Linked DNA regions of Homo sapiens: all the other regions are linked to region 3. The links are contacts of gene promoters, found by promoter capture Hi-C in blood cells and fetal thymus (Javierre and others, 2016). All regions are on one chromosome and are shown on one strand. The core of a region is centred on a gene start or on the middle of the fragment in contact, and the rest is flanking DNA. Distances in the headings are between cores, read along the strand shown. Region 1 overlaps FLVCR2-AS1 (FLVCR2 antisense RNA 1). Region 2 overlaps TTLL5 (tubulin tyrosine ligase like 5). Region 3 holds the start of TGFB3 (transforming growth factor beta 3). Region 4 overlaps TTLL5 (tubulin tyrosine ligase like 5). Region 5 overlaps TTLL5 (tubulin tyrosine ligase like 5).

Region 1 (2,700 bases), core at 116-2,615, 410 kb after region 3:
TTAGTGAGATAAACTATGTAACACACGCTCTCAATACGTATCTGTAGAATTGAGTTGTACTGCATATCACCATGAAATTTTACAAAACTGGAGACAAAGAGGAGATCCAACAGGATTTCAGAGATTTTAAAAAATCAGAAAAAGTTAAAAAAAAAAAACCAGATACAAAATATCAACACAGTTGCCTCAAGCCTGGAAATTTGAAGTCAGTGGAACAATGCCTTCTGAAGAAAAACCGTTTCTTACCTAGAATGCTATATCCAAACTACCAAAAAATCAGTTTGAGAAGAGAGTGAAACAACAAATGATACTGCCTTATCTTCTCTCTCAGGAAGCTGCTGAAGGATGTGCTCCACCAAAACAAGGAAGGAAACCTAGAGAGGGGAAGAGGTTAAGGCTGAGGAAACCGGGAATCCGCCACAAAAGGCAAACAATGGGAATCACCCAGCTAAAGGAAACTCCTGGGTAGACAGCTATCTACCAGGCATAAAAAGCAGTGTACTCGGCTGGTCGTGGTGGCTCATGCCTGTAATCCCAGCACTTTGGGAGGCTGAGGCGGGTGGATCACCTGAGGTCAGGAGTTCTAGATCGGCCTGGCCAACATGGTGAAACCCCATCTCTACTAAAAATACAAAAATTAGCCGGGCGTGGTGGCAGGCACCTGTAATCCCAGTTACTCAGGAGGCTGAGGCAGGAGAATCGCTTGAACCCAGGAGGCAGAGGTTGCAATGAGCCGAGATCGTGCCATCGCACTCCAGCTGGGGGGACAAGAGCAAGACTTTGTCCCCCCAAAAAAAAGAAAAAAGAAAAAAAAAGAAAGCAGCATACTCAGGCTGAAGCTGCTTTGAAGACTCCAAGGAAGAGTTCTTCAAGAAAGTCACACTGAAAGAATCATGTTTGAAAATATTGAGAGGTTTACACAATAGGGGGAAGATTAGGGGTTGGACTAATGATAAGTACCATAAATATAACTAAGTAAATGGGGAAAAGGAAGCATTATTAACTCCAGTGGAATAAACAAACTATGGAGGAAAAGGAAAAAATAATCATGATATACCCTAAGTGATTTGATTTGCATAGCATGAACACAATCCTAATAAAGTGAACACTGGGAGTTGATGTATCTAAAGCTATGATATAACACAGTTAGCAGGATGGGGGAGTGGGAAGCGGGCACCTGTGCAGGGTTGAGATGAGGGTGGGGTAAACAGTTAAACAAGGAGAATGGGGCCGGGCACGGTGGCTCACACCTGTAATCCCAGCCCTTTGGGATGCCGACGATGGTGGATTGCTTGAGCTCGGGAGTTCGAGACCAGGCTGGGGAACATAGCTAGACCCTGTCTCTATCAAAAGCAGAAACAAAAACCAAAAACTAAAAACAAGGAGAGCTGGTTTTCTTCCCTGGGGTTTTGGCAGAAGCACATTCCCTTCAAGGACAAACTTGGAGAATCTCTGAGCAGACCCCGGAGGAGAAGGAATCTAGACTCCAATCATGCGATTTGTCTGCCGTATAGAAAAGGCTATGGCATGCAAATGCCTAACATGGAAAAAGTCCGGAAGTGTTAATAAACCCGTGGCACTTACAGCTATGGTGGTTAAGTACCAAAAGAATTGAGAAGAGTTGGAAGTACTTGCCTCTGGAGCGCAGGAAAGGGGGGTACACAACTGATATGTTTCATACATGATTATTTTATTGTTTGAACTATGTATAACTAATATTTTTTCTTTTTTCTTTTTTTTGAGAAGGAGTCTTGCTCTGTCGCCCAGGCTGGAGTGCGGTGGTGCGATCTTGGCTTATTGCAACCTCTGCCTCCCAGGTTCAAGCGATTCTCCTGCCTCAGCCTCCCGAGTAGCTGAGACTACAGGCGCACGCTACCATGCCTGGCTAATTTTTTGTATTTCGTTGTAGAGACGGGGTTTCACTGTATTAGCCAGGATGGTCTTGATCTCCTGACCTCGTGATCTGCCTGCCTACCTCAGCCTCCCAAAGTGCTGGGATTACAGGCGTGAGCCACTGTGCCCAGCCAACTAATTTTTTTGAACTTAAAAAAAATCCTAAAATTAAAAAATGGAATCAAATTTAACCGAGCTCCAGCTGTTTCACTGGAGCCCATAGGTGATGTCTCAAAGTGTGGTCAACTTGTCCTAGAGTTTATACTGTTGGTGCTATGATGGACACCCAAGACTTCAACTCTGGAACCTCAGGGATGCCTCTTCAGCCAAGCTATGTCCTCCAAAGTCCATTAGGGCGTCTCCTCAGAGAAATTGTGTGTGTAGTCAGAGGACCTATTCCCCACATCCTAGTCTTGTTTGACCATTCCCTGGCCTTCTTTTTGCTTCTAACGTCTTTCATACTTATAGAGTCTGTGGGCTCTTATCCCTACAACTTACAACTCAACTTCCGTCCCATCATCCAAAGACCTGTGCCAAGGTCTACTTCTCTGGAGTTCTCTCTGTCGACAAAGCGCACCACTAGCTCCCAGTGAGCCAAGCCTGAAGACTAAGGATTCCCCAGATCCCCCTTCACTCACTCTCAGTGTCACAGATGCTTCTTTCCTTACAGTCTTCCCTCCTGTCCTTTCTCACTGCCACCACCCTGCTGCAGCCTCTCCTGGCTTCTCACCTCCAACCCACGGCTGCCTCCTCGTTGTTCTCGCTCCTTCCAGTTCAGCCGGATGTCGCCTCACAGGATTTTCCAGT
Region 2 (2,700 bases), core at 86-2,585, 320 kb after region 3:
ACCCCTATTAGAAATGCCTTCCCCACTTCTGTTTATCTAAGCCCACTCTCCAAGGCCTACCTAAAGTCTCACCACCTTCAGGCAGCCTTCCCCAGCTCCTTCAGCCCATTACGATACTTCCTTCTCTGAACTCCTATAGCACCCACTTTATAATTGATTGTTAATAATCTTTTTAACTGATATAAAGCCAGCCTTTTACAATAGCAATTAAAGTTGACATTTTTTCAGTGACCAAAGAAATCTTACATCACGTTCTTCTACGAAAGCTTCTATATCTACATACAGAGTTGTATTTGGGATCCCCAAGCAAAATATAGAAAAACAGCCTCTTTACATTTTCTATTTGAAATAATACCATGCAAAACAAGACTGCCTGGATAGTTTCTATTCCTGAAGTCCACGATTGCAAGGAATTAATACTTTAACACAGCCTAGGGATCTGAGCAGATCTAACAGATGTCCATGGATATACATCTTTGGATCAAGTCAACATCTTCCGATGATTTATGGCCTTCAAACTTCTAAATCAACTTTTAAAATGTAAGCCTGCTGCTTCAGGTGTGAACAAGATTGATTTAAGCTTCCTAATGTAAAAAATAAGTGTCTGATAGACAAGACATAAGCTGATGAAACAAGATTAACAGTTAAAAATCAACAGTAGGAGTCTAAAAGGAGGAAGTGGTCCATAAATTTGGATGGGAGCAGAGGGAAAATTACACCTTTATTTTCACTAACTTTTACTAGAAATTCAGTATTTCTTAATTATGAATATAGGCAACGAACCATAGTAATATTAGCATTATCTGTGCCTTTGACGTTATCTAAAATTACAGCAGTTTTTTTGTTTTGTTTTGTTTGAGACGGAGTCTCACTCTGTCTCCCAGGCTGGAGCACAGTGGCACAATCTCGGCTCACTGCAACCTCTGCCTTCCAGGTTCAAGCGATTCACCTGCCTCAGCCTCCCGAGTAGCTGGGATTACCCACAACCACACCCGGCTAATTTTTGTATTTTAGTAGAGACAGGGTTTCACCATATTGGCCAGGCTGGTCTCAAACTCCTGACTGCAAGTGATCTGCCCACCTCGGCCTCCCAAAGTGCTGGGATTACAGGCGTGAGCCACTGCACCTGGCCAATTACAGGTATTACATTTGTCACTACTTCTAAGTTATAGTAGTTTAAGACTCACCCCTAGATCACATGTGATCATGGTCTTTCTATCTAAATGCTAGTGTGATGAGGTTGGACAACAATTGGGCAACTCTCCTCCTAATAATCATTCAGTCACTAAATGATGACACCTCACACTGGTGACCCAGACATCTATGCTGCTTCCCAGTACCCCCGACCTATGATTGTTAATCAAAGGCCACCCTCCCAGTGTACTGATCTTACACAAACTAAACAAAAACAGTCTTCATGTTGTTGTCTTTAGAAAACAAAATTTAACTTTCCCAGATTTGAAATGATCTTATTATTTAATGTATTAGTAAAACAGCACATATTACTATGTTACAAATGTGTTTTAATAACTGCATTTGAATGTAATTAGTACTCTTTGTAATAATATGTATTTTATTTTAAGCCTTAAAAACATTATTCTGGTAAGGAATCCATGGCATAAAAAAGTTAACAACTCTGATCTAAGGTAATGTAAAGTATAAAGCCTTCATTTATTCCTTCATTTCGTTATTCAGTCAGCAAGAATTTACTAAGTACCTACTATAATATTAGGTCAAACTATCTGCAATCGTCAGTATTTGACTGTTTCTGACCTACCAAAATGGCAGTTTCATATAGTTCAATCTAACATTTGTCAGGCCCAATCTGTAAACCCACTAATAAGAGAGACAGTAATGGAGTAAAAGAACAACCTTTAAAAAGGGAAAGACTGATACTTGCAGCAGAAGTTAAAAGTTTTATGAAATGGGTAAGAGGCAGCACACCGAAAGCAAAAAGTCAGAAGAAGGGAAAGTAACCAGAGGGAATTATCCATTTAATTATCCTGAACAAGAATGACCCAAATATACTTTCAAATCTCTATTAGTTTCTATGACCTAACAGTGATAAGAAACGTTTCCTCAAAGCTTTCTTAATGCTTCAACAATTTTTTTCAAATTACAAGTAATCTTGTATCTTACAAGAAGCCCACCATAAATTCAATATTAAAACCAGTAAAAATAATGCCTTACATTTGTATAGCACTTACAAAGTAATTTCACATACATTATGCTATTTGAGTCTAACCAGACCCCTACAAAATAGCCTGGGAGATATTATCTCTATTTTTCAGGTTACATAGCACACACATATCCAAAAGGACTCAGGGAGAATCTTAAAAATGAATTTTACCTTTAAACCAGATTCTCTCTTTACTCTGTGTCAAGCAATAATTAAAGGAGGCAAAAGAGCAAAGTGATCAAAATCCAGAAAAGCTAAGTCCAAATCTCAATGCATCACTTACTCTCTATGGGTCACTGAGGAAATTTCCTGATAAGACTGAGTTTAAAAAAGTGAAAATAATAACACCTTCAGATTTAAAAAGATATAAGATATAGATGAGATAAAGCCTTTATCGTCATCTGTAGTAGCTATATTTATCATTATCATTCTTTTTTTTTTTTTTGAGATGGAGGTTTGCTCTTGTTGCCCGGGCTGGAGTGCAATGGTGAGATCTCAGCTCACTGCAACCTCCACCTCCC
Region 3 (2,700 bases), core at 201-2,700:
GTCCAGAATCTGGCAACGTCCTGGGTCCAAATCCCAACAGCTGACACCTAATAACTATGTGACCTTGGGCAAGTTACTTTTAAAGTTTCTACCCCTAGGTTTCCCATTGGTTTTGCAAATGAAAGTAATGCCTACCCAAGCTAGATAGCCTGTGTAAAATATCGCCTCCATCACTCACAAGCAGTGTGGTCTGTAAAAAAAAAAACAAAAAACTCTATGCCTCAGTTTCCTCATCCGTAAAGTGACCCACCGCTGTGCTGGGATACAGAGAACAGCCCCTTCAGTTAGTGGCCTGGAAGCCAGACCTCTCAGAAAGGGTCCAGGAAGGCTGGAGTGAGATGGGGTGGGAGCGGCACTCACTCTCAGGAAAGTTCAGTTCAGAGGCAAGCCCTGTGTTGCGGGGTGCGGGGAGCCACGTGCCCTACCCTCCCTTGGCTGCTCGTGGGAAAAGGCCTAGAGGTTCGGGCCGAGAAGAGGAGCGAAAGCACAGAGCCGACTTCCCCTCACCCATCTGGGAAATGGGCTCGGGCCAACTGCTGACTTCGCGCTCGCTGGCGCAGCTCCCTGCGGAGACCTCGGCGGGGAGGGAGGCTGAACATCTGGATGACATTTCTGCGAGAGCGGCTCCGGAGCGGCGGTCGGGGAGGGAGAGGTGCGCTCGTGCGCACGTCGGGCCGGGAGGGAGGCGATTCCTCGGGGCCTGGGTCTTGTTTTTCTCGCTCTCTACCGCAGCCCCTTCTCCCGCCCCTCAGCCCCCACCCCGCAGCCCCCAGCCCCCGAGCCTCCCCGGCTCCCGACCAGCCGAGCTCCTTCACTGGCGGCCTCGCCTCGCCAGAGGGCACCCTCGATCTTCCGGAAAACGCCACCATTTTTCACTGCCCCTGGAGCGTCTCCAGGCTTCTGCCCGCCTCCCGACTCCGATCTTGTCAATGAAGAATCGGGCCAGGATCGCCGCGGAGCGGACGCCGACCCTCCGACCCGGCTCGCAGGCTGGGAGTCCCCTCTGCGAGGCTGGCATGGCCGCCCCTACCGGGTCCCGCGCCCTCTGCGGACCCTGCCCCGGGTTGGGCCTGGCCCGCGGGCGGCCCCGGGACCGGGGGACCAGGAGGGAGAGTAGACGCGGGCCGCGGACGGCGCGGACTGACAGCTGGCGAGAGGGCGCCGGGGCTGGGGGAAAGGGAGGGAGGGGGCTCATCGGAGTAACTTTCCAGAAAAACAGCCAACGTGTGGCAGGAGTGATTCCAAGAGGGGAAAAAAAGTTCAGCTACCACGTCGAACGAGAGGACTCGCAAAGTATTTTTCAAAAGGGCTCGGCTTTTCCTGTGCCTGTTTAAAACATTAACATCGTGCAGCAAAAGAGGCTGCGTGCGCTGGTCCCTCCCTCCCCCACCCCAGGCCAGAGACGTCATGGGAGGGAGGTATAAAATTTCAGCAGAGAGAAATAGAGAAAGCAGTGTGTGTGCATGTGTGTGTGTGTGAGAGAGAGAGGGAGAGGAGCGAGAGGGAGAGGGAGAGGGAGAGAGAGAAAGGGAGGGAAGCAGAGAGTCAAGTCCAAGGGAATGAGCGAGAGAGGCAGAGACAGGGGAAGAGGCGTGCGAGAGAAGGAATAACAGCTTTCCGGAGCAGGCGTGCCGTGAACTGGCTTCTATTTTATTTTATTTTTTTCTCCTTTTTATTTTTTAAAGAGAAGCAGGGGACAGAAGCAATGGCCGAGGCAGAAGACAAGCCGAGGTGCTGGTGACCCTGGGCGTCTGAGTGGATGATTGGGGCTGCTGCGCTCAGAGGCCTGCCTCCCTGCCTTCCAATGCATATAACCCCACACCCCAGCCAATGAAGACGAGAGGCAGCGTGAACAAAGTCATTTAGAAAGCCCCCGAGGAAGTGTAAACAAAAGAGAAAGCATGAATGGAGTGCCTGAGAGACAAGTGTGTCCTGTACTGCCCCCACCTTTAGCTGGGCCAGCAACTGCCCGGCCCTGCTTCTCCCCACCTACTCACTGGTGATCTTTTTTTTTTTACTTTTTTTTCCCTTTTCTTTTCCATTCTCTTTTCTTATTTTCTTTCAAGGCAAGGCAAGGATTTTGATTTTGGGACCCAGCCATGGTCCTTCTGCTTCTTCTTTAAAATACCCACTTTCTCCCCATCGCCAAGCGGCGTTTGGCAATATCAGATATCCACTCTATTTATTTTTACCTAAGGAAAAACTCCAGCTCCCTTCCCACTCCCAGCTGCCTTGCCACCCCTCCCAGCCCTCTGCTTGCCCTCCACCTGGCCTGCTGGGAGTCAGAGCCCAGCAAAACCTGTTTAGACACATGGACAAGAATCCCAGCGCTACAAGGCACACAGTCCGCTTCTTCGTCCTCAGGGTTGCCAGCGCTTCCTGGAAGTCCTGAAGCTCTCGCAGTGCAGTGAGTTCATGCACCTTCTTGCCAAGCCTCAGTCTTTGGGATCTGGGGAGGCCGCCTGGTTTTCCTCCCTCCTTCTGCACGTCTGCTGGGGTCTCTTCCTCTCCAGGCCTTGCCGTCCCCCTGGCCTCTCTTCCCAGCTCACACATGAAGATGCACTTGCAAAGGGCTCTGGTGGTCCTGGCCCTGCTGAACTTTGCCACGGTCAGCCTCTCTCTGTCCACTTGCACCACCTTGGACTTCGGCCACATCAAGAAGAAGAGGGTGGAAGCCATTAGGGGACAGATCTTGAGCAA
Region 4 (2,700 bases), core at 1-2,500, 260 kb after region 3:
CCCGTCCAACTTCCCAAGATCCTCTTCACAAAACATGTTAAGCTTCTTGAGTCTCCTTACCAAAACAACTGCTGCGATGAGGAACAAAGGTTTTACAGGCAGTAGCAATAGCTAGTTCAGCAGAGATTATAGTCTTAATGATCAGGTCTTCTACATGGGCCATCAATGCTGCAAACAAAAATTTTTAAATTTCAGACTCAATATCAAAATACATGGATTATGAACTGGATTCCAGATAACAATATAACTATAAAAGCATGTGTGCTCATTCAAAAAAGCCTCTATATGGCAGACTTCTGAATGGGTGCTATAGAGGCAGGCATATCTGTGAACAGATCAATACAGTCAAGAATGTAGGTGCCAAGGGATACCCTCAGGTGGCCTCTTATGACAAAAGACAGACACATAATGGAATAGGAGCCTCACTTCCCTTCTCACACTTCCCCTATGACCCTTTCCCTTGTGAAATGAAAAGTCTTTTTTGGCACACAGTTTCCCGTTCTGCTCAAGGCTCAGCAATTGTGTCCATTTTGATTTGAAGCCCTGTGCTCAAACAGTGCCCATTCTCCAACTCAGCAACATGAATGAGAGAGATTAACTTAGAAAACTCGAAACTTGGGGCCAATATGGAGACAGGCAATTTGTTATATAAAAAGCTGACCATATTTTAGTCAGCAGTTCAACATTCAAGAAGGGTAAATTCACTAAGGATTAAAAGGAAAAAGTTATGTCTTTCAGACCCGAAACAAGAAAAGGGATTTTGAGGGTAATGGAAAACCTGTTCCCCAGCTTGTCAACTGCAGGAAAAAGTAACACCAAGGACAATCATCCCGTCTCAGCAACACTATCAAAGCAACAGAGAATGATTCCTGGCAAGAGACAATGATAAAGTTATCCAAAGAAGAGAAGTCAAGAAGGAAAAAGGCCCAGTACTCACCGGTTGTATCTCTGCCTTCTTGTTTCAGGTACCTAAGCATAGCACTCATGCTCCATTTGTTTCCATAATCCTCCACTTCTGGATCGTCACAACTAAAACAAATTAATAAATCAAAGTCACATATGTAACTAGGCTTGGCTATAATAACAAGACTCTTTGCAAATAGCCTTCTTGTCTTTTTAAAAAGTTTTTTTTTTAATTCACTTTGCTGACTTCCAGTTACTCATTTTTTCTTGGTCCTTTTTGTCATATATCCTTTCATACCAATTTCTTCAATGGAAATGAAAATGCATACAGTTTGCCTTTTTCAAGAGGGTGGGGAAGAAGGCGGCAAATTCTTTCTTAACCAAACAATTATGCATCAAGAAAGAGTGAAAGCAATGTGTGAAAGAAGGCAAACAAATTTAAGAATGGTTACAACAAGTTAAAAGACAATTAACCTTTGAGGTGAATGTCACCTGAGTCCACAAAACAACCTCTGATGCCATTTTCAGACCAGAACTGAGTTGGAATGGGTGAGTGAGTTATTCTGGTGCAGCATGCTAATGAAATAACCCCACACAGAATTGCTTTGGCATCTGAAGCAGGTTCCCTCCTCTTTGGCAGTAGATATGGCTTTTCCTGATTTTTTTGAGGTAACACTGAAGGGAGAGTGCACTGGAGTGACAGTAAGAGTGAGGAGGTATACTATTGCTATGGCAGCGGAGTGGCCAATGGCACAGCCTCCCACGAATGTTGGAAGAGCCCCGCAATCTGGAACCTGTGTTTTGCAGCTGTCCCCTCACTCCCTACCACCATCCCACTCTCCACCAATTGTGCCTTTGCTCATCTTTCACAGTGGAGGTATGATCTCTTCAGTCAATGCAAATGCTGCTCACAGGATATTTGCTGAAACCTATATAGCTTCAGCAACTATTCTATCACTTCCAGATTCCTTTCTTTCTTTCCTTGGACCTGCTAGGAACCTATTTTTAGTCTGAGTAGAAAGTAACTATTTGGGTCTCTTTTCCACTTTTCCACTTTCTGGCAAAAATATCGGCATGAAAGAAAACAGAGCAAAAAGAATATTTCCACACAGCTGGGCTAGTACTCCCTTCCACTGAATCCTTTTCTGAGATGGCCTCATTTCTTTCTTTCTTTGATTTTTTCCTTTTCTTTTTCTTGATCATACAAGTATTTATTTTAGAAAAATTTAGAAAATACATAATGGCACAAAGAAGAAAATAAAAATCACCCACTCACAATCCTACCCACTATAGTTAAGCTAAATTAACACTTCGGTACTACTTCTGGTCTTTTTTTCCTCCCCCCTCAGCAAAAATAAGCAGCTTTAGATATCTCATATTCAAGCAAGAAAGTTAAGTTGCATGTGCTATCTGATAACCTGCTTTTTCCACCTACGAATACATGGTAATGAACATTCTTATCACTGATCCTGTGTGTACATCTTTTATTCCTTAAGGTTAAGTTCCTAGAAATGGAACCATGGGGTCAAAGGGTACAGACATTTTTTAAGCTTTTGATATGTTTGCCAAGTGCTGAAATGACCTCATTTCTTAACTTCTAAAACGTTCCATATGCCTATTAAATTCCCATTCCTAAGTCAAGTGAGGGAAGGCAGTGAGGAAGAAAAACTTGTGAAGGCACATTTTGGTAGAGAAAGGTGACACCGTTAACCGGGGAGGCAATGGAGAAGCAGCAGGAGATATGCCTCAACACTGTTATATGACTGACAGATTTCCATAAATGGTACATGGACATTA
Region 5 (2,700 bases), core at 190-2,689, 280 kb after region 3:
CGAATATAGGAGGGACTAGAGTGACCTAACACTCTCCTAACATGTGAAAGTCTCAGAGAATGTATCAATACTGTATTTCCCATGGATCATGTGTGAGACAAGAATGAGTAAACTTGACTTCCATAATCAAATTCATACCTTAATCAGAAAACACCCATTCTTTCCCCTCCTTGCTTTGAATATACTAAATTGGGAAAATATGGCATTTAGTCATGGTTACTGAAGGAGTGGAGCAAACACAGCTTTGTTCCTTTATGCTGTATTTCTAAAGAGCACATCCTTATGAGACCACGTTAGCCAACCGAGATGTTTCCATCTGTGGTCCACACTTCTCTTTTCAGTGTTACATAAAAGTGATGCTTTTGCTATCCTTTATCTCGTTCTCGTAATGGTAAAAGTTGCTATTTGCAGAGAGTTTCCAAAAGGTTATGACTACTATAGGGAAGTTTTAGTAAGTGGCCCTCTCACTCCAGTGGGAAGAGAGGGGAAGATATTTTCATTTGGCCCTCACACCAACTCCATCCCCACTGCCTAAATCCCTCACTCACTCACATTAGTTCTGCTCCCAGACCCTCTGCCTCAGCATTCCCTCTCCTCACCCTCCTGCTTAAATCTAAAAGGAAAGCAGGCAGCAGCCTTGGAAAGAGTTACTTCATCCAGTTGGCTAATGGGTCACATATTCCATGGGAAAGGATCCAGGCATGGAAAAGAGGGGATGGTTATGCCTTTTGTGTAAGGAGAGAGAAGAGTATTAACAACATGGTTTGCAGGTCTGGGTAAAAGGTGGTAAAATTCCAGTTTTGGGGTAAAACAGGAGTATTTTCCCATTATGTCCGCATGTTGCCAGCTCCCCTCATGCCTCCTGGCATCCTCCCAGGCTTCTGTCTGGCACTTCCACTAAATACCTAAAAGAATCAGACTCATTCCAAAGCTTCACAAAGAGGGAGGGGGAAGGCAAAAGGTCCTGCCAAGTACTTTGATCTATGCAGGGGGTCTCAAAGGATTCAGCCCAGGGAGAGGTGGGAGGGAGAAAAAGACTCTTACATAGCCTGCCAAACACATTCTCTAAGACATGTCACCCCACTGAGATTCGGCATCCAGGGAAGAGTTAGGGCGCAGGGTTCTCGGCTCCACCAAGGAAAGTTTAACTTTTCTATCCTTTATGATGCTAGCTTTAAAATAACAAATCACTAGGGCAAAAAAGCATTCCAAAAGAAAAAAGTCCCAGATGAGCTGGGAATAGATCCTATTCTTTTTGACTCATATCTAAGAAAATAAAAAGCAAACTTGTACCATAGCTGACTTTCAATAGCAATTCCATTTGGCAGCTAAAACCTAAACCCAAACTAGTGCCGTCTATGAGATTCAAACAACACTGGAGCTCCTGGCACAGAGCTGAAGGAAAAGCTGTTGGAGAGGGGCCTTCAACACCAACGTCAGAGCAGAGACAAGAGGAGACAGAGCCAAGGCATATGACCATGGCCTTATGTCACAGGAGACTCAGGGTAAAAGGCCTCCAGAGTGGCCTAGGCCAGGTAACAGAAGTTGCAGCCAATGCCTGGGGCTGTAGCAGTTGCTCTATCAAAACCAGATCCTATATTTCTTTGGCATGAAGGGTCTGGCCATCATTGTTTACGGTACTGTTTTGAGTCCAGACTGAATTTAAGGACTTTCCAATGTGAAAGATCCCTCAGAAAGTTAGTTTCTACACATATGGCAAACAGCTCAATGTGAAAAGACAAGTGGGGAATTTAAGATAGGGTTCTGGTCCCACATACAACACATCTACCTACCCCTGCCCTTCCAGAGTTCCAGTGGAAGGACAGAAAGAATATTTTCAAAAGAATGAAATGATATCAAAGCTAGGAAAAAGTAAAAGAAGCCAGAAAAGTCCAAAAGAGATAAGAGTGACCTTCCCAAGGAGGCTCCTGCAAATTTCCAAGCTTGTACTCAACAAACATGAAGCTCAGGGATCAGCCAAGGAATTAGAATCAGATAATTAACAAACAGCATTTGGAACAGTGAGGCCAGGAGACGTGTGGGTGCAGAAATCTGATAGAGAAGAGTAGAACTTGAGGCTACCTTATCACCAGTACACACAAAAAGGAAAAGAAAGGTAGCTCTGCCCAAGAGGGAGATCACCAAAATCCTCCTCTGCATTCACAATATGGCCCACTTTATTTTGGCAAGGTGGAAGGGGAGTGCTTCTCACCATGTCCACCTAAAGTAAAGCCTGAGAGTCAACATGTTTTGCCCTTACACAAAATTCACAGTCAGCCTCTTCCAGGGAGAAGATATTAGGAAAAGAGTCCTACACAACCACAGTAGAAACCCAGACCAGCGGCCAGTTTCATTCAGTCTAGTCTTTTGTTCATAAATATGGTCCAACATGTAAGGATCATCAAAGCTGAGAAAATCCAATAGCAGGGGAAAAGACAATCCCAATAAAATTAAAGGACAGAAGAGAACTTTACAAAAATTTCCATTGGTATCCTCAGAAGGAAAGGCAGGCAAACTGCATCCATTATGCAACAAAAGGTTGTTATTTGTAAATAAAAATAAAGCAAATCAGAATATGAGTTTCTGGAAATCAACCTATGATACCCAATATAAAAATACAGTAGATAAATGAATAATAAATGGATAAACCTCAACCTGTGATCTAGAAGATGGGAAAAGAATTAAAAATGCGAGAAAAGT

Evidence for each region. The method cuts DNA at HindIII sites, captures the fragments that hold promoters and counts their contacts. A CHiCAGO score of 5 or more calls a contact.
Region 1: a contact is called between a fragment that was not itself captured here and the fragment with the promoter of TGFB3 in region 3, in 1 of 17 cell types (erythroblasts). The highest score is 5.8, in erythroblasts.
Region 2: a contact is called between a fragment that was not itself captured here and the fragment with the promoter of TGFB3 in region 3, in 1 of 17 cell types (naive CD8 T cells). The highest score is 5.3, in naive CD8 T cells.
Region 4: a contact is called between a fragment that was not itself captured here and the fragment with the promoter of TGFB3 in region 3, in 13 of 17 cell types (megakaryocytes, M0 macrophages, M1 macrophages and 10 more). The highest score is 10.7, in megakaryocytes.
Region 5: a contact is called between a fragment that was not itself captured here and the fragment with the promoter of TGFB3 in region 3, in 14 of 17 cell types (M0 macrophages, endothelial precursors, naive B cells and 11 more). The highest score is 10.3, in M0 macrophages.

What each region holds. Positions count from the first base shown.
Region 1 is chr14:75,572,344-75,575,043 of GRCh38, reverse strand. It overlaps FLVCR2-AS1 (FLVCR2 antisense RNA 1), which reads left to right. Exons shown (of 3, transcript NR_110552.1): 3 at 1-143. Among named protein-coding and RNA genes, the nearest start is that of FLVCR2, 4.9 kb to the left of the region's middle. The HindIII fragment of the contact is 3,502 bases long and covers 1-2,700 here.
Region 2 is chr14:75,664,009-75,666,708 of GRCh38, reverse strand. All of the region lies in intron 2 of TTLL5 (tubulin tyrosine ligase like 5), which reads right to left. Among named protein-coding and RNA genes, the nearest start is that of TTLL5, 4.1 kb to the right of the region's middle. The HindIII fragment of the contact is 1,505 bases long and covers 583-2,087 here.
Region 3 is chr14:75,980,745-75,983,444 of GRCh38, reverse strand. It overlaps TGFB3 (transforming growth factor beta 3), which reads left to right and starts at 1,450. Exons shown (of 7, transcript NM_003239.5): 1 at 1,450-2,700. The coding sequence starts at 2,552. RefSeq lists silencers at 656-775, 906-1,145 and an enhancer at 816-875. The HindIII fragment of the contact is 14,571 bases long and covers 1-2,700 here.
Region 4 is chr14:75,718,064-75,720,763 of GRCh38, reverse strand. It overlaps TTLL5 (tubulin tyrosine ligase like 5), which reads right to left. Exons shown (of 32, transcript NM_015072.5): 11 at 938-1,029; 12 at 61-168. Among named protein-coding and RNA genes, the nearest start is that of TTLL5, 58 kb to the right of the region's middle. The HindIII fragment of the contact is 2,411 bases long and covers 45-2,455 here.
Region 5 is chr14:75,701,036-75,703,735 of GRCh38, reverse strand. All of the region lies in intron 7 of TTLL5 (tubulin tyrosine ligase like 5), which reads right to left. Among named protein-coding and RNA genes, the nearest start is that of TTLL5, 41 kb to the right of the region's middle. The HindIII fragment of the contact is 1,012 bases long and covers 934-1,945 here.